4 separate regions of the Homo sapiens genome follow, and all the other regions are linked to region 1. The links are contacts of gene promoters, found by promoter capture Hi-C in blood cells and fetal thymus (Javierre and others, 2016). All regions are on one chromosome and are shown on one strand. Each heading gives the region's core, a stretch centred on a gene start or on the middle of the fragment in contact. The rest is flanking DNA. Distances are from core to core; before and after follow the strand shown.

The links. Contacts are between HindIII fragments. The CHiCAGO score rates a contact against its expected background, and 5 or more counts as called.
Region 2: a contact is called between a fragment that was not itself captured here and the fragment with the promoter of PSMC1 in region 1, in 11 of 17 cell types (M2 macrophages, M1 macrophages, monocytes and 8 more). The highest score is 12.6, in M2 macrophages.
Region 3: a contact is called between a fragment that was not itself captured here and the fragment with the promoter of PSMC1 in region 1, in 1 of 17 cell types (monocytes). The highest score is 5.6, in monocytes.
Region 4: a fragment that was not itself captured here is called in contact with the fragment with the promoter of PSMC1 in region 1 in 1 of 17 cell types (M2 macrophages); the score reaches 5.3 in M2 macrophages.

What each region holds. Positions count from the first base shown.
Region 1 is chr14:90,253,460-90,257,902 of GRCh38, forward strand. It overlaps PSMC1 (proteasome 26S subunit, ATPase 1), which reads left to right and starts at 3,094. Exons shown (of 11, transcript NM_002802.3): 1 at 3,094-3,141. The coding sequence starts at 3,139. RefSeq lists enhancers at 2,740-3,269, 3,145-3,384, 3,270-3,797. The HindIII fragment of the contact is 16,889 bases long and covers 1-4,443 here.
Region 2 is chr14:89,959,242-89,964,180 of GRCh38, forward strand. TDP1 (tyrosyl-DNA phosphodiesterase 1) reads left to right here. Exons shown (of 17, transcript NM_018319.4): 3 at 3,867-4,432. The coding sequence starts at 3,874. Among named protein-coding and RNA genes, the nearest start is that of TDP1, 5.8 kb to the left of the region's middle. RefSeq lists an enhancer at 3,635-4,834. The HindIII fragment of the contact is 2,643 bases long and covers 426-3,068 here.
Region 3 is chr14:89,942,150-89,947,150 of GRCh38, forward strand. All of the region lies in intron 3 of EFCAB11 (EF-hand calcium binding domain 11), which reads right to left. Among named protein-coding and RNA genes, the nearest start is that of EFCAB11, 10 kb to the right of the region's middle. The HindIII fragment of the contact is 4,864 bases long and covers 351-5,001 here.
Region 4 is chr14:89,981,841-89,986,130 of GRCh38, forward strand. TDP1 (tyrosyl-DNA phosphodiesterase 1) reads left to right here. Exons shown (of 17, transcript NM_018319.4): 9 at 2,676-2,843; 10 at 3,292-3,370. Among named protein-coding and RNA genes, the nearest start is that of TDP1, 28 kb to the left of the region's middle. The HindIII fragment of the contact is 2,235 bases long and covers 718-2,952 here.

The DNA.
Region 1 (4,443 bases), core at 1,844-4,343:
GGCCAGCATGGTGAAACCGCGTCTCTGCTAAAAATACAAAAATTAGCTGGGCATGGGGACGGGTGCCTGTAATCCCAGCTACTTGGGAGGCTGAGGCAGGAGAATCGCTTGAACCTGGGGGGTGGAGGTTACAATGAGCCAAGATTCTGTCACTGCACTCCAGTCTGGGTAACAGCATGAGACCTTGTCTCAAAATAATAATAATAATCAGAGTAGCTGATACCTAGAGTAATTGTCCTATGCCAAGTGCAATTCTCAGCATTTTACTTTAGTCCTCAAACAATGGCACCATGAAGGAGGAACTATAAAGGTCCCTATTTCACAGACGACAGAACTGAGACACAACAACACAGCTCACTGGTGACAAGGCTGGAAACGAGACCTGGCGTTAACCCCTTGGCTGTTTGATTAGTAATTATTCTTATTTTTTAAATAAAAAGTCATTCTGATGGCTTCTTCCAACACACGAATGGGCCCCTGGGCCACCAGGGTGTGGCTGCCCTGCTTTGCAGACCAGTGTTCTGGAGTTCCGGCTCTAAAAATGTGGTGTATGAGTCACCCAGCCTCAGAATCCCTTGGGGTATCTGTTAAAATGCAGGTGTCTGGGCCCTGCCATGGGCCTATAGAATCACAGTCTCTGGCGGATGGCACCAGAGTCTGCATTTTGTCAGCATCTGGGCTGGTTCTGATGTGCTTGAGGTTGCAGGGGGGCTGCTGAACAGGATGCACGCTCGCCTCTGGCACCTGCCCTCTGTCCACCCCGGCCCCGCCCCCTCTGTCCACCCTAGCATGAGCCCTCCGTCCACGTTTGGACACCTTCCTACCTCAGCCTCCATTCCATCTACTTTTGGCAAAAATCTCTTAAGAATCAAAAAACAAGAGTTTTATCCTCTCCGTATCCTCAGCCGGCAAGGTAGATAATTATCCCGTTATACAGATGAGAAAATGAGGATGACTTGCTGATGTCACACAGCTAGAGCAGAGCCTCCGGAGAGGAAACCTGTTGGTATCTTGATTTTAGCCCTGTGAGACCCAAGTTGAACTTCTAACCCAGAGACCTTCTAGCTTTGAGCACTACATTTATGGTCACTTTCTTTTTTTTTCTTTTTGAGATGGATTTTCCTTCTTTTCGCCCCGGCTGGAGTGCAATGGCGCAATCTCGGCTAACTGCAACCTCCGCCTCCCAGGTTCAAGCGATTGTCCCGTTTCAGCCTCCCGAGTACCTGAGATTACAGGCATCTGCCACCACTCCCAGCTAATTTTTGTATTTTCAGTAGACATGAGGTTTCACCATATTGGTCAGGTTGGTCTTGAACTCCTGAACTCAGGTGATCCACCCGCCTCGGCCTCCCAAAGTGCTGGGATTACAGGCGTGAGCCACGGCGCCCAGCCCCTGTGCATCTCTTTTGCCCTATGGCTGACTCTCAATCCTCCCCACCCGGTTGACAGTCATCTCTGCAACTCTCCCTCTTTTCCACTTGCAACTTCCAACCTCCCCAAGTGCTGAGCACTCCAAGTAGTCTTTCTAATCCTCTCCCTGCTTTCTCTTAGCTGTCCATTATGTAGATAAACTTAAATTTTCTGCTTACTTTATGTCACTTCCTACAGCCACAATAGGAAAGTCTGATGCCAACGTTGGCTACTCTCTTCATTACTGGGTTCTATTGACTCGCCTTTAACCGCTGAGCTTCCACTGGGAGTTATGTGCCTGTTTCTGACTTCTTCACTATATGGTGTCTCTAATCTCCATCCTCTGCAGCTTCTACTGCAGGGCCTCTGCCCTGGCTGTTCCCTCTACCTAGAAAGCTCTTCCACCAGATATCTGAATAGCTTACTCCTTCATGCCTTACGGGCTTTTGCTCAAGTATCATCCAATTTAAAGTTAAAATCACCCACCACTGCTGCATGCTCCTAATCCTAGGCATTTTTCCTAGGCATTAATTTTTCCTATGGCATTTACCACTATGTGGCATACTATATATTTTACTATTTACTTGTTTCTTGTAAAATGCATTAGGGAAAGGATATTTATTTTGTTTTTTAAATTTTTATTAATTTTTTTTTTTGAGACAGAGTCTCGCTCTGTCACCTAGACTGGAGTGCAGGGGCGTGATCTCACTGCAACCGTCGCCTCCCAGGTTCGAGAGATTCTCATGACTCGACCTCCCAAGCAGCTGGGATTACAGATGCCCACGATGATGCCCGACTAATTTTTGTATTTTTAGTAGAGATGGGAGTTTCACCATCTCTATCCTATGTGTGATACTGTCCTATCGTGTGATTTCATGTGTCATGTACACTAGATGCCAGATTTGTTAACAGAGGTCGATAGTGCTAAGACTTTCTATTACCGTGTTGCAGTGATGATGAAAAGGAAGAAGTATACCTGTTGTGTGTTCATAAGGGAAATATTTTTAGTGTTTCACAACTAAAATCCCTAAATCAATCTGGAGCAGAAAAAAAATCATCCATTTCTCCAGTTCAGAAAGATGCAGTATTTTGAGCACTTGTTAATGAAATTTCCAGAAACAGAAGGGATTGTTGCCATTTTTCTGATGTCCTGGAGGGTGTAACAAATGAGGAACTTTACCAATCAGCTTCAAGATGAGGAATTTAAGACATTTGGCATCATCACAAGTCACAGGTCATCAGAAAAAGACAGGTTTAGAAGACTCGTTACACACATACTCCCAGATGTGCAGGTTAAATTCCAGAAGCTGAATAATAACTGAAATATTTGTGCAAATGTATATGTCAACTTCCCAGTTCCAAATACCATTCCAGTTTTTAGAACCATAAAGTTCTTCCCAGTTATAAATTTTGCATAATTTAAATATTTTATATTTTCACGATTGTCCTAATTCTTTGACAGTAGGGGTCATTGTCTTAAGTTGTTGACAAGCGCCTCATAACGGGTATTCAAAAATTTCTTTCAAGTAAAATATTTATAAAGTTCACTTTATGCTTATAAACTGCTGCGTTGCCCTAGACCGCCCGCACAAGCCCTTGGAGCACAACTTGGTCAGCGCAGAATTTGGTTCCTATCAGCTTCCGTAGCGTCCCTAACGACTTCCGCCTCTGGCGGGCCGCAGTGGTGGAGGAACTTCCGGCAGCGGCAGCTCAAGTGGCCAAGGCAAGATGGTGAGTGACTAAGGGTTTCTTTCCGCTGGTCGTCGCGGTGCGATGGGGTCTCAGCAGCCTGAGGCGAGAGAAAGAGGCGGCTGCCCGAGGAACTGGGACAGCCCTCTTCTCCTTTTGCCGGCCTGATCTTCTCGGCGGGTGGAGGCTCCCAGAGACCGCGCTCATGTCCACCGCGGGCCGGGGCCGACCAACGGGCCTTGCCCGGGGATCCTGGGGCCGGGGCTCAGAGCAGAGAGAGGGTCTCCTGCGTGGTCTTGTGGGGCGGCAGAACGGATCAGGCCGCTGGCTTTGCTGCTCCGCCGACCAGGGCTTTGCTGATCGGCGCTGGGAGTTTCGGGGGCGCCTCCTCGAGTCACCGGGAAAAATGCTTTTTGAGTCGGGCAGGTGAAGGGTGCTGGAGAAGAGGGTGGGATTCATTCCACCTGAGGAGTTGAGCGCGGAGTCGTGGAAGGCCTTTCGGAGCTGGGGGCATTTGAAGGAGGCCTTAAAGACGTTGTTATGACAGGCGGAGCTAAGACGGAAAGGGCCCGTGGTGCAGTAGTAATAATAAAAACAGCTAGCATTTATTCATCAATTCACTAAACAAGTATTTACTGAGCACTTGGTGTTTTGTTGTTGTTGTTAAACTTTTGGCTAGCTTCTGTTGTAGACACTGAGGATTGATTGAAGTCCCTGCCTTCATAGTGCGTACATTCTAGAGCAGAAGGCAGACAATCATCAGAAATATGTAATATGATGTCAGGGGTGGGGTGGTCATTGTTGTATGGTTATTGTATAGAAAGGGATAGCTTGGAGGAGTGGCTGCTTTTTATAGAGTCAGCGAAGGTAGCTCTGAGGAGGTGAAATTTGAGCGGACCGAAATTGAGGGAGTAACCCCTGCAGATGTCTGAGGGAAATGTGGTCAAGGCAGAAGATACAGCAAGTGCAAAGGACCTGAGATGGGAATGTTTAACCTGTATCATGAACGGCAAGAAGGCCAGATCTCATAGAGGTCTTTTTTATTTTAATTTTAATTTTTATTTTTTTGAGACGGAGTCTTGGTCTGTCGTCCAGGCTGGAGTGCAGTGGCGCGATCTCCGCCTCCCGGGTTCAAGCGATTCTCCTGCCTTAGCCTTCCAAGTAGCTGCGACTATAGGCGCCCGCCACTACGCCCGGCTAATTTTTGTATTTTTGTAGAGACGGCGTTTCACTCTGTTGGCCAGGCTGGTCCTGAACTCCTGACCTTATGATCCGCCCGCCTCGGCCTCCCAAAGTGTTGGGATTACAGGCGTGAGCCACCGCGCCCGGCCTCATAGAGGTCTT
Region 2 (4,939 bases), core at 497-2,996, 300 kb before region 1:
AAGCACTGCCCAGGCAGGGAAGACAGATGATAAACAATTGAAGGAAAGCTCTCAGGTTCTACATTTCTTAAAACTGTATGACTTGATTACAAAGCACTCTGAAATGCTGGGCACCAGAGCCTCTATGAGGGAAGTAAATTCTGTTACTGGTGACCAGTTATCCAAAGTAAAAGTTTGATATTGGTGTTTACTAGCAGTTCTTTTCCAACTGGGCGGGAGCCTTGATGTCATAAAGAGGTTGGTAAGCTGCTACATTTAACAACAAGACACAATTTTATTAGTCTGTTGCACTAAATTGTAACCCAATAAATTGTATTAGGTTGTAATAAGCAACTCAGGCATATTTTTGAGTTTCAGCAGGTCCAAAACTTTATAGAGCAGAACCCCAAAAAAAGGCTTTGTTCTCTAGAAAATGTCTTTTTTAAAGCTTTGTTTTATTTTTTATCCTCTTGTCCTACTTTGTTGGAGGGAATTCCACTTCCATATGGTTTTAGAAAATGGAGATAATGATAAAACTTAAAAACCTTTGAAATTCTCTAAATAATTCACAGAGTTGCTAAGGATTTTACCTTAGCAACTCTTAGTACATAATAATGTACTTAGCACAGAATTCTCAGTGTTTGGAAATTCCATTTTATTTATATAATGCAGGCAACCATATTTGTTATGGTAGCCTCTTAAGATTCTGCAACTGCTTCTGAGAGTGGAAGCTGAATCCTTTCTCACCAAAAACTAAGACCTGCTACTTACTTTAGAATGGGCAAGGTATCTATAGAGAACAGCCTGAGGACTGTAATGGAAGATTCTATTACTCACCGCCTTGGTTTAGAACTGTTGTAGAATTCAAAGGAACCTAGAGCTGACATTCAGAGAGTGGTTTTTCCTAAGGTGGTTCTTTTGTTCCTAGATAACTTTAAAGTCACGAAACTGTAGCCACTGAAATAGTTTCTTCAAAGTGTATTGTAACAGCTTAAATACCCCTATCCAGCAACTTCTAGACTCTAGAACACTAGAGGAACCTAAGGTTTTGTGGGTTTTTTTTTCAAACCGGAAGGATTAAAAACATTTAAAAAACCACCTCTGAGCTGCTTAAGTAGGTGTTGAGTAGTAAATCAATCTGAATCTCTTTCATGGAGGAAACTGGGCACTCAGACCCCTTTAACCATGACAATACAGTTCTACAAACCCAGTTATCTAGTTTCTTAACCCTTAGCAGATTAGAAACAATTTAGGGAAAATATACCTATGCTATGAGTTTTAACAACCCCTTGAAGTGGGCTGGACAGAGTGTAGAAATAAATAGAAACTTTTAGAAAGCAGATATGAGGGCTCAAAAGAGCCAGACAGTCTAGGGTCACTATTACAGGAGCAAGTGGCCCCAGCCCTCTCTACAGTCAATAAGGCTTTGGCTGTGAGATAGTGTGTTCATGCTGGGTAGGGTAATAATGACCCAGAGCCATGAAGAATGGGCCAGATTATTGTCTTGATGCATTCTTGCATAAAAGTTCCTTGAAATGTGTAATTTACAGAAGGCTTGCTTAACTTGACTGGTAGTTAATTGAAAAAGGTGAAGAGAGAAATTGTGAAAAGGGATAGATACCTTTAAAGTATTTCCAACCCTCCCCTGCCCCGCCCTGCTGTGTTCACTGAAAAAATCATGAGATCTATACATTTAGAAAGGAGAGCTTAGTTCTTATAAAGGGCTACAGCCTGCAGTGTGGCCTGACAGGCTGGGAAGCACAGCCTCAGGCAGAGACCTTTAATGGCATCCCAGGGAGGAGAGGGTAGAACAGAGATTTATACTGAATGGGTTGGCCAAGTATAGTATTCAACAGGTGTGGGAGGAGCTATGAATATTCACCAAGGGGGGACACGTGTGCATGTGTAATGAGCAAACGTGTGTTTTGTGCATCTCGTGTTCACTTTGGGATGGAGACTTAACATTTGAATGAATTACAATTAGGCCCTCTGTCAAAAGGTGAAGGAGAGACATGAAGGCACTCAGTGCTCAGCCTCTGAGGACTGGTCAGAACCAGTCTGTGGTTTCTTTTCAGGAGAAAGTTACTCCATTGTCCAATGACAGCTGCAGTCATGGCCTGTGGAACCAGAGGGGTCAGTTAGTCAAGCATCTGGCAGTAGGTGAGCTGCAATTGTTTAGATATTCCTTATCTCTAGGCCAGTGCTTATTTAGCTGCTGAAGAAAAAAGAACCTTGTGGAAGGTAGAACATAGTTTAAAGGTAGCAGTGTGTGATTTAACCCTTGCTTGGCATGGCCTTAGGTCTTGTTTATGATTTAGTGTCATATTGTCACAGAATCTATTCTGCCAGTCTTACGATCTCTGGTCAGTTGTGTTTAAACCGCAGAAGGGAGGGGATATAACAGGCATGTCTGAGCTCCCATCTCATCATGGCCCGGAACTCAGTTTTTAAGGTTTCTCTGGGGTCCCCTTAGCCAAGATTTTTATTTTTAGTTCTCATCTAGAGACATATGCATATGTATTGATTTGCAAATCTTTTGATGTAGAATAATGTTGAATTCTCTTTTTTGGGGAATGTAGGTTTTGTGAAGGGAGTGTCACCATCTTGGTTTACTCCACTCAATGCATCTTTTCCAGCCTCATTAAAACAGCAGAAACTCGAAGATACTGTTGATCTGAGCACAGACTACTGAGTTTTGTAATTTTCCCCTGGGTCTTGTGCTAAAATGTTAAAAGTATCACATTGAGGAACTGTTCTTTAGCTGTCTGGAAAGTCTACTTAGATAGTCCTTTACCACTGAATTGACAAGATTTGGTAGGTAACAGCAAAAGTGACTGTTTCGTGTACTTTCCTGTTCTCAGAACAAGAAAGTAGAATTTGACTGTGGGGCTTAAAAAATAAAAGTGTGTTGCTTCAGTACAAGTTATTTCTGTGTAGGTGTTAGTAGATTTATGATGTAGCCAATAGGATAATTATATCTTGATATAATTATATCCAACTAATTATAATTAGTTGGGTCCTCATGGAAGTAGTGTAAATAATGTACATACCTAAGTGGTCATTTGGCTTTCCTCTTGAAGACTTTGTTAAGCTTTATGGTAAATGGGTTGTCTTTTGGGAAGTAAGACATACATAATCACTGAAGTCCTGTGGGTGCCTGTACTTGGGTGAAGGCTAGGTTTGTAAATTCCAATTTGACCTTAAGCATTTGAACATAGATTAAATGGACCTTAATCCCAAACGCTTATTGGAAGTTTCGGGGTCAAGAATGAATGTTTGTTTTATTTTGGCATTTGTCTTGATGCATTCTTCAACCCCCTTTCCTAGGACATCTAAGAACAAAGTTTAGATTGAAAGCCAAGGCCAGGCATGGTGGCTTATACTTGTAATCCCAGCACTTTGGAAGGCCAAGGTGGGTGGATCTCTTGAGTCCAGGAGTTCAAGGCCAGCCTGGGCAACAATAATGAAACCCTGTCTCTACCAAAAAAAAAGAAAAAAAAAATTAGCCAGACGTGATGGCGTGCACCTGTAGTTCCAGCTATTCGAGAGGATGAGGCAGGAGGATTGCTTGAGCCCAGGAGGCAGATGTTGCAGTCAGCTGAGATTGAACCACTGCACCACTCCAGCTGGGTGACAGAGCGAGACCCTGTTTCAAAAAAAAAAAGGAAGAAAAAAGAAAGGTGACCAGGACTTTTGCTTGTGATTTGGCAGAATCTGATAGTGGATTCTGGTAATGTGCTTATAAACACCCAAAAAGCAGCTGATGTTAGGTGGTTCAGCCTCTGGAAGGTGTCAGCTCATCTGACAGGGAAGTTGAGAGCAATAAAGTTATTTTGCCAATGCCCTGATGAATGGGAAATGCTGATGTTTCCACTTTTCATTTCCAGGAGTATAATGTCTCAGGAAGGCGATTATGGGAGGTGGACCATATCTAGTAGTGATGAAAGTGAGGAAGAAAAGCCAAAACCAGACAAGCCATCTACCTCTTCTCTTCTCTGTGCCAGGCAAGGAGCAGCAAATGAGCCCAGGTACACCTGTTCCGAGGCCCAGAAAGCTGCACACAAGAGGAAAATATCACCTGTGAAATTCAGCAATACAGATTCAGTTTTACCTCCCAAAAGGCAGAAAAGCGGTTCCCAGGAGGACCTCGGCTGGTGTCTGTCCAGCAGTGATGATGAGCTGCAACCAGAAATGCCGCAGAAGCAGGCTGAGAAAGTGGTGATCAAAAAGGAGAAAGACATCTCTGCTCCCAATGACGGCACTGCCCAAAGAACTGAAAATCATGGCGCTCCCGCCTGCCACAGGCTCAAAGAGGAGGAAGACGAGTATGAGACATCAGGGGAGGGCCAGGACATTTGGGACATGCTGGATAAAGGGAACCCCTTCCAGTTTTACCTCACTAGAGTCTCTGGAGTTAAGCCAAAGTATAACTCTGGAGCCCTCCACATCAAGGGTAAGAGGATGCTGGGTGTCAAGGAGCTGTTGAATTGCCCTTGAGAGTCTCTCCTCCGTGAAACAAGGAGGGCAGCCTAGAATAGTTTCTGAGAACTCTTCTTTGTGTTCTTAACTACTTTCAGGAAAAAAATTCTTGACAGGCAAGTGCATTAGTATAACAGCAGACTGTTTACTTAACTCAGGCAGAGCGTGTGTTCTCAAAACCCTGTAGCTCAACCCCTTATATCACTTAGCACGATGTTTAGCATTATTTAACTTTTTAAGATGAAGCTTGATGAGTAACAGTTTATCAACAAGGTAGCAAATACTTGACAACAGTAGTAGTTCTCCATGGGCCCTGGACCAGCAGCCTCAGCATCACCTGCAACTTGTTAAAATGCAAATTCTCGGGCCCCATTCCCGATTCATTAAATTGGACTCTGAGGGTGAGATCCTGCAGTCTGTGTTTTCACGAGCCCTTGAGGGGATTCTACTGCCCAGTCAAGTTTGAGAACCACTGCTTAAA
Region 3 (5,001 bases), core at 1,533-4,032, 310 kb before region 1:
AGTCTGTGGAACTGTGAGTCAATTAAACCTCTTTATAAATTACTCAGTCTCAGGTAGTTCTTTATAGCAGTGTGAAAATGGACTAATACAGAGGATAATCATAATATCATAGTTACATTAAATATAACAATCATCACAGATGAATGTGCTCATCACAGATCTGCATGATAACTGTTCAGGAAATGATTGCTGCAATTATCTATAATAATAATAAATACTGTAAAAGGATTTTGCCAAGTATTTATTATTTTATTATTCCTCTATATCATTTTGTGATTCTTCTCTGAAGCCTAGGTTCCTCATTTTAAAATAAGGACAGATGACTGTTTTCCAGGTCTCTTCTAGTTGCAAGCTTCTTCATTCTATACACTTGGAAAAGTTATGAAGTGCATCACAGAGAATGAGGGTTATAATGAAACCCTCTGAAAGAGGTAGCAAGACTATAAATCAGAACCAACCTCAACTGTGATCTGCCGCTTCCTTTAACTAATGGCTTGATTTTTTTCTCCCACTCATATATTTCCTTGTTTCAAGCAGCCACAACAGTTTTTGCTTATATTCACTTGCTTGTTAGGTTACAGGCAATAAAAACATCATTAGCACCTTTCTGCTACTCACCCTGGCTGCCCTCAAATTCTCCCAGCATGTACACTTCTTCCAGATACTTTACTCTTATTTCTACTAGCTTTGACTTAACTTTTCACTCTTCTTAATTTTCACGAGGAAATCTCTATTGAAATGACCTACTTTTCAAGAGGATTCGAAGCCCTTGGGAAGCAGGGCCTGGGCATCCAGGTTTAGGTATAATCCCGAACCCAAAGTGCAGGGTGTCTAGCTTCCGGACTCTGGCCCTTCCTAAAAGCAGCTGAGTCTGGGCCAACCTAGAATGTGAGTCTGACCTTGCCCTGCAAGCTGGGCAGCAACTGGGCCCTGCAAAAGAATCCTGTGGATGGTGTGTTAGAGCCCTGTTCCGAAGTAAGAAGAACAATGGATAGCAGAGAATTCCCAAGTCACAGCTGTATTATACAGAACAACTTTGGAAAGTTGATTACCTGAATAAATAGTTCCCAGGAGGCCAAGGCCAGCATTTCAGACCTGTTTTTTTTTTTTTTTTGAAACAGGGTCTCGCTCTGTCACCTAGGCTGGCGTGCAGTGGCGTGATCATGGCTCACAGCAGTCTCAACCTCCTGGGCTCAAGCAATCCTCTACCTCAGCCCCCTGAGTAGCTGGGACTGGCATGTACCATCAGGCCTGGCTCATTTTTGTATTTTTTGTAGAGATGGGGTTTCGCCATGTTGCTCTCGCTGGTCTCAAACTCCTGGGCTCAAGTGATCCACCCACCTTGGCCTCCCAAATTGCATGGGACTACAGGCGTGAGCTACCACACCCCGCCAATTTCAGTTCTTCAAGATCCAAACATTAAGAAGAGAGATAATATATGTGGAAAAACATTTAATCTGCACATGTGCTCTCTTCCTTCAAGAGAAATAGCATGTAAAATTGACTCGTATCAATAAGAGGGAAAGAAGAAAAAGTGGATGGTTTGAAATTGGTTCAGTATTGAACAATTCTAATAGAAAAATTGCATGTTAGCAGCAATCAGAGTACAGCAGTGATTTCTTGCTAGGCTATTTTACTCCTTTTCTTGAATGTTTGTGGTCTTGAGTTTCTCCAAATAAACACACACACACACACACATACATACACACTCACACTAGAGTACAGCTGGGAGAATACAGGTGGGGACTGTATTCTTTCTTCCAGAATCCATACCTCTCTGCACATTAGAGAACTAGTTAAGGAAAGAAAACATTCAGTGTGAAGTCAAATCCTTAATTCAAAATCAGAGAACATACAGAAGAAAGAAAGTCTATGAGAATAATGAATGTTAAAATGCCTTCAGCAATAGTCACACTTGATGTATCAGAAAAGCCACTGTATTAATCTTTTCTCATGCTGCTGATAAAGATGAGACTGGACGATTTACAAAAGAAAGAGGTTTAATGGACTTACAGTTCCACACGGCTGGGGAGCCCCCACGATCATAGCGGAAGGCAAAGAGGAGCAAGTCATGTCTTACATGAATGACAGCAGACAAGAGAGAGCTTGTGCTGGGGAACTTCTCTTTTTAAAACCATCAAATCTCGTGAGACTTATTCACTATCACAAGAACAGCCTGGGAAAGACCTGCCCCCATTATTCAATTATCTCCCACTGGGTCCCTCCCACAACACGTGGGAATTATGGGAGTTACAAAATGAGATTTGGGTGGGGACACAGCCAATCCATATCAGTAACATAATAGAGAAACACGATATTATGACTAGGGTAAGATCTTCATCCAGAAAGAATAACTCACTGAATATCAGGGAACTCTTAAGAAAGAGAAATCCTATCAATGCAAAGAATGTGGGAAATCCTTTTGCCAGAAAACAAAACTCTCTGTAGATTGGAATATTCACAAAAAACCCTAATGAAAAAAATGTAGAAAAGGCTTTATCAAGAAGTTGTAACTAATGGAACATCAAACATTATTCTGAATATTTTGAAAGTGAAAATTTTCAACAAGAAATTTAAAACCTGGAGCAATTCTATCAAGTTAGCGATTATATCAAGAACATGTTCTCCTAGCAATAATCCTGAAAGTCTTATTTTAAATGTGATTCTAAACCTTGTACATAAAGTGTATTAGATTTTAATACAATATTAATAAATCTAATAAAATATTAGATTTTATTAGATCTAATAATAAATCTAATAAAATATTAGATTTTATTAGATCTAATAATAAATCTAATAAAATATTAGATTTTATTAGATCTAATAATAAATCTAATAAAATATTAGATTTTATTAGATCTAATAATAAATCTAATAAAATATTAGATTTTATTAGATCTAATAATAAATCTAATAAAATATTAGATTTTAAATCTAAATGTTAGTAATCCCTGCTCTCTTTTCCCCCCCCACTCAGTGTGGGTAGTAGTTTCTCATTTTTATTGATTACCTCAACAAAATCAGCTTTTAATTTTTTCTTGTTTGTCCTCTTTTCAATTTCAACAATTTCCATTCCAATCTTTACTATTTCCTTTCCTCCACTTATTTCGGGCCTTATTTACTCTTTTTTGTAGTTAAAGGTAGAAGATAATTAAAGGTAGAAGCTGAGGTCATCAGTTTGACACCTTTATTCTTTCCTAAACATAGAAAGTTAGTGCTACCACTTTCCAAGTATTGCTTTCAATCCATCCTACAAAATTTGAAATGTGGTCTTTTCATTCAATTCAAAATACTTCCTAATTTTTCCCTTTTGATTTTTTCTTTGACCTATGAGTTATTTAGAAGTGTGCTATTTGTTTGGAACTTTTAAACTTTTACTTGGAACAACTATTTGCAACTTTTCCAGACAGCTTTGCTATTGATTTCTAATGTCGTTCCATCACAAAGAACATACTTTGTACTTTAAATGTATTGACATGTTTAATGGCCCAGAGTATGACCAATTTTATTAAATATACTGTGTAGACTTGAAAAGAATGTGTATTCTGCTTTTGTTGGGTAGAACATTCTATAGATTACAATTAGGTCACACTGGTTGACAGTGCTGTTCACGTCTCCTATATCCTTATTGATTTTATGTCTACTTGCTTAATTATTGATAGGGGTGTTGCAACCTCCTACCATCATTATGGATTTGTCCATTTTTCTTTACAGTTTTATTAGTTTTTTGCTTCATGTATTTTGAATTTCCATTATTAGGGGATTTTTTTTTTTTATTTTTTTTTTTGAGACAGAGTCTTGCTCTGTCACCCAGGCTGGAGTGCCGTGATGCAATCTGGGCTCACTGCAACCTCCACCTCCTGGGCTCAAATGATTCTCGTGCCTCAGCCCCCCGAGTAGCTGGGATTACAGGCATGCACCACCATGTCCAGCTAATTTTTTTGTATTTTTTCGTAAAGACGGGGTTTCATCATGGTTGGTCTCAAACTCCTGGCCTCAAGTGATTCGTCTGCGTTGGCCTCTCAAAGTGCTGGGATTACAGGCTTGAGTCATGGCACCTGGCCAGGGGCATAAATGTTTAATTCCCTTAATGAACTGGCTCTCCTTATCCCTGGTAATATTTCTTCTTCTGAAGTCTACTTCATCTGATATTAACATGCTCACTTTGGCATACTTTTGGTTAGTGTTCAGTACAGTATATATTTCTAATCTTTTTTGCCCTTATGTTTAAAGTGGGCTTCTAGGCAACACAGAGTTAGTTGGTACTCTTTTATCTAATTTAACAGTATCTCCCTTTCAATGGGGCTGTTGAGATCATTTACATCTAACTAAAACATTAATGATTGGATTTAAATCTACCATATTATTTTTCTACTTGTCTATTTCCATCTATTTTTTGTTCCCATTTTCTTCCTTCTGTTGAATTAATTAAGTTTTTTAAGAGATGAGGTCTCACTCTGTCGCCCAGGCTGGGGTGCTGTGGTATGATAATGGCTAAGTGCAACCTCAAACTCCTGGGCTCAAGGGATCCTGCCTCAGCCTCCCAGGTAGCTAAGATTACAGGCACGTGCCATCATGCCTGGCTTTTTTTTTTTTTTTGCTTTTTTGTCGATTCAGAGTCTCATACTATGTTGACCAGACTGGTCTTGAACTCCTGGCATCAAGCAATCCTCCTGCCTTGGCCTCCCAAAGTGCTTGGATTACAGGTGTGAGTCACCACTCCCAGCCAACTGCTGTCATTTTTATCTTTGTTCCTATTCATATGTGTCTTTTTTTTCCCTAGATACACTTATGATTTTTTAACATACTAAAAAAGGAAAGATACTATTAAGGATGTTATTAGATCAACTGACAAAATATAGATGATAAATCAGATAAAACAGTATCAACATATATTTATGAATATGATAAGCATATTTTGGTTATATTCATTACAGAAGAGAAGGGGATAGTGGTAGAAAGTGCAAAGGAGAAGGAAGATGGTGTAAAATGTTAACAATG
Region 4 (4,290 bases), core at 585-3,084, 270 kb before region 1:
ACACTTGGCTAACTGTCTTTATTTTTTGTAGAGACAAGGTTTTGCCTAGTTGCCAAGTGATCCGCCTGCCTCAGCCTCCCAAAGTGCTGAGATTACAGGCATGAACCACCGTGCCTGGCCCCAAGTTACATCTTAGTTTGAGCTGAAATAGCTTTCCAGTTTCCTTCAACAGGTCTTGCTTCAACCTGAGTGCACTGCGCAGGACAAATGTAATCTCCCTCCCTTAAAGCAGTCCTTCAGAGTTTGAAAGGGAGTCTTGTTTCTGAGCCTTACATCTCTTGTTCCCTCCCCACTCCCTTGCCCCACCATAGCATGTGGCTTTGAGACCCCTAGCTGTAATTCCTGGTCGCTTTTCTATAAACATGTTATAATTTTTCAGTATCCCACTGAAAATATGCTTTTCAAAATGAAGTGTGGCTCTGACTGGTCCAGGGTTGAGGGGATAGCTGCTTGGTCTCTAAGTCTCAGCTGTAGCACTTTCTTGATCTACTGAATTTATGGTTAACTATGCCTTTGGTACCCCAAGAGCTTCTAAGCCAGTTCTCCTGAGCTGCCAGATTGGGTTTGGGGATTCATGTGGCCCTATCAAAAGGCAATGAGATTAATGTAGCTTGTTCTCATGAAACAATGTTACTAAAGGGATTTCTCAGGTTAGCTCTCAGCCTCACGTGGTTCCAAGAATCCCACCCTGGGCCTCCAGCTCCTTCTGAAGTTGGAAGCTTAGCTTACAGGCAGTAGTACTGTCTTGGGATTCTCTGGGGTGGTTGCCAGGAGGGAAGAGGCAGGGATAAGGGCTTGGGTGTTTCTTTTATTTAAAAAAAGTATTTTTTAATTTAAAATTTTGGAAAACTTATTGACTAGGTAGGAACGGTTCAAAACTCAGAAAGTACCAAGACTATGAAATCTTCCTCTGGCAGCCATCCTGGTGTGGGATCCTATTATTTCATGCTTGGCCTATATTCTACTCTCTAATGTTTTGCATTTCATGTTATTTGTGGTAATTTTAAAACTTTTGAAAGCAGTTTTTGTATACAATCTCACTTCATAATTGGTCTACTGTGGTTCTGCTAATCCCCTTCAGCTGCCTCATGATCCACCTGTTGATTTCTCACTTTTTAAAATTAGAACAAGAGTTGCATCCAAAGCTCACAGTAAAGAATAAAATAAAATTATTTGGCTCATTATAATAATTTTCTCATTTTGTGATGTGTTAAAAATGCCTCATATCTCAGCATCTTAGTTTAGAAAGTCATTTGTCTTGTTTCTCATCCAGAACTCACCTGTGAGTGAATCTCTGATCCAGGAGGAGCCTCACTCAGCCTGGGAACTTTGAGGTGCTATTGCAAGGGGAGGTCCTCCACGTCTGTCCAGCCCAACCTGGTCATTTTACACACGGAGGCAAAGGCCCAGAGAGATCACAGAGCTTACCCAAAATGGTATAGTCAGCTAGTCGATCTGGGTCCAGAACATGGGCTCCAGCCCTCATCACACCATGCTACCTCCTGTGCTAAGTGTCTCCCCAGGGTGGGAAGCAGGGGTATGAAATGCCCCTTGCTAGAAACTTGCAGAGTTGAGAAGATGTACGGCCGAGAGTCCTTGCAGTTCTGGATGCCTTCTGCCCTGGTGGCCTGCATCTTGCCAGTCTCCTTCAGGGGCTGCCAGGTGAAAGAGAAATTGGGCAGTTTCTCTTTCAGCTTAATAGATAGAACCCAGGGTGGGGAAAAGGAGAGTAGCCACAGAAGGGGAAAAAAGTAACACCTGATACTTTTGACTGCTCCTGTAAGTCATTGCTTTGCAACAGCCCAGTGAGGCAGCCTTGTTAACCCCACTTTTTTGCATTTGAAGAAACTGAAGCACAAGAGGTTTGAAGCCATTTTAGTAATCTACTGTGGAGCAGTTTATAGAAGGATTGGGATTAGATATGATTGTTTTCTATTTATGGATATAATGTAGAAGTTTTGGCAAAGAGCATTGTTTTCCTCTAGGGAAAAAGAATTAATGAAATGAAAGATGTCTGTAATGCTTCTTCAGTGAATTAAGTGTTGAAAGTTTGAGGTTATTGTAATGTCACTGAATGTGATATATACTTAATCCAGGCACCAGAAAGTATAAGACATAAAAATATGCTGCTATAGGACCTACGTTATGAAAATGGGTTTGTTAATTGAAAATAGATTTTTCACATGCACTTTTGGTATAGATAACACAATTCTTATTTCACATTTGGCTGAAGAGCTGCATTGATGCAGACAAGGGCAAATTCTTGCTTGGGATTACCACTAGTAGCATGGATTTGCTTTAACCGTTAAGAGTAGAATTCTTAACTCTTGTCATCAAGTCTTAGAAAGCAATATATAGGTGCAGAGGTAAGAGGAGCAATAAGGAAGGTTTGGCAAGTGAGAGGGAGCATGGAGGGATGTGGGTTGGAAGAGGTGGGCAGAGCCCAGGTCTTACTGAATCTTAAATTCATGGCAAGACATTCAGGAATAATTCTGAATGTGATGAGAAACCATTGGAGTGGTGTTCTCAGATTTATGTTTCATGTTTCCTAAGATTACTTACCATGTGGAGATACCGAGAATTCACCTCTTTCTTAGGATGAAGGCATAATCGATACAGAGATCATTATGATCAGTTGTGTGCCTGACTGTTAAAGGTTATTTTTTTAATTCCAGAATATGGTTGAGCCCCTTATACCCACGAATTGCTGATGGAACCCACAAATCTGGAGAGTCGCCAACACATTTTAAAGCTGATCTCATCAGTTACTTGATGGCTTATAATGCCCCTTCTCTCAAGGAGTGGATAGATGTCATTCACAAGCACGATCTCTCTGAAACAAAGTATGTGTCAGCTTATCAATTTGGGGTGCTTATGATAGGCTTATACCTTGGGAGCCTCATGAGGTCTGGCATGCAGGGGCCTGGAAAGAGGTGGGGTGAAATCTAGCCAAGCTTCAGGATGTGATGAGGGGATGAGCAGATTCTATCACATCTGTATCTTGTGGTTCTCAGGCATTAAAGTGACAGCCAGTGAATCCTCATGTTTACCTTAGCCTCCCACTGGGTTACTCTCACAATTATTGAGTTCTTTGTCTGGTACTTTACATCTTGTAGGCATTCCATCATTAGTTGATTTGCTTGAAAATGAATTTGAGAGTCAATTCAAGAAAATGGATTGGCTCTTAGATCATTTCTTGATTATATTAGTTTTCATGTGTATTTTGTCATTTTTTTTGGTGCCCAAAGCACATCACTATATTTTATAACTTGTGTTTTTATGTCTTTTTAGTGTTTATCTTATTGGTTCAACCCCAGGACGCTTTCAAGGAAGTCAAAAAGATAATTGGGGACATTTTAGACTTAAGAAGGTAACAGAACTTTTACTATTTTAACATTTTTAAAAAATTTAATGTATATTCTCTCTTTTAAAATAATTATATATTTTGATGCAGCTTCACAATATTTCTGCACAATTCTGGGCAAATAGATACTTGATAAATTGATAATTATAATTCTTAGTAATTACTGCTTTTTAATGTGTTTTGCCTCTTTTATAGCTGTAGGCTGTTAATGGCATAAATATATAGACCTTTTCTAGTTTTTATATTGTAATAAAGATAGAGGCTTCCTATTCATACACATACTGTAGCTTTGATTATAGCTTTTGATTGTTCAGCATATCAAGTTTTAAGATATAAATTCAACAAACAGAAAATGTTGAGTAAAGACTACAACTGAGCTATAATATATTTTGATTATTAAACCAGTGCCCTTAAGAAAACAAATTCAAAAATAATACTTGCTGCTGATATGAAAATGCACGAAGAAAGGTCATAAAATAAGTTGAAGATTAAAGTTTTTTTCATCTCTTTTTAGGTGGTTTACTGACCTTAATAAATTCCCTGGCCAGGTGTGGTGGCTCACGCCTGTAATCCCAGCATTTTGGGAGGCTGAGAGGGGCGGATCACAAGGTTAGGAGTTCAAGACCAGCCTGGCCAACGTGGTGAAACCCTGTCTCTACTAAAAATACAAAAATTAGCCGGGCATGATGGCAGGCACCTGTAATCCCAGCTACTCGGGAGGCTGAGGCAGGAGAATCGCTTGAACCCGGGAGGCGGAGATTGCAGTGAGCTGAGACCACACCATTGCACTCCAACCTGGGCAACAGAGCGAGACTCCGTCTCAAAAAAATAAATAAATTCCCTAAAGTGGCTTTCTTAAAAGCCTTAACCTCTTATTCCATAAACTATTTAAAGTCTAAGAATTTTCCCTTGGTTAATGAAACTTT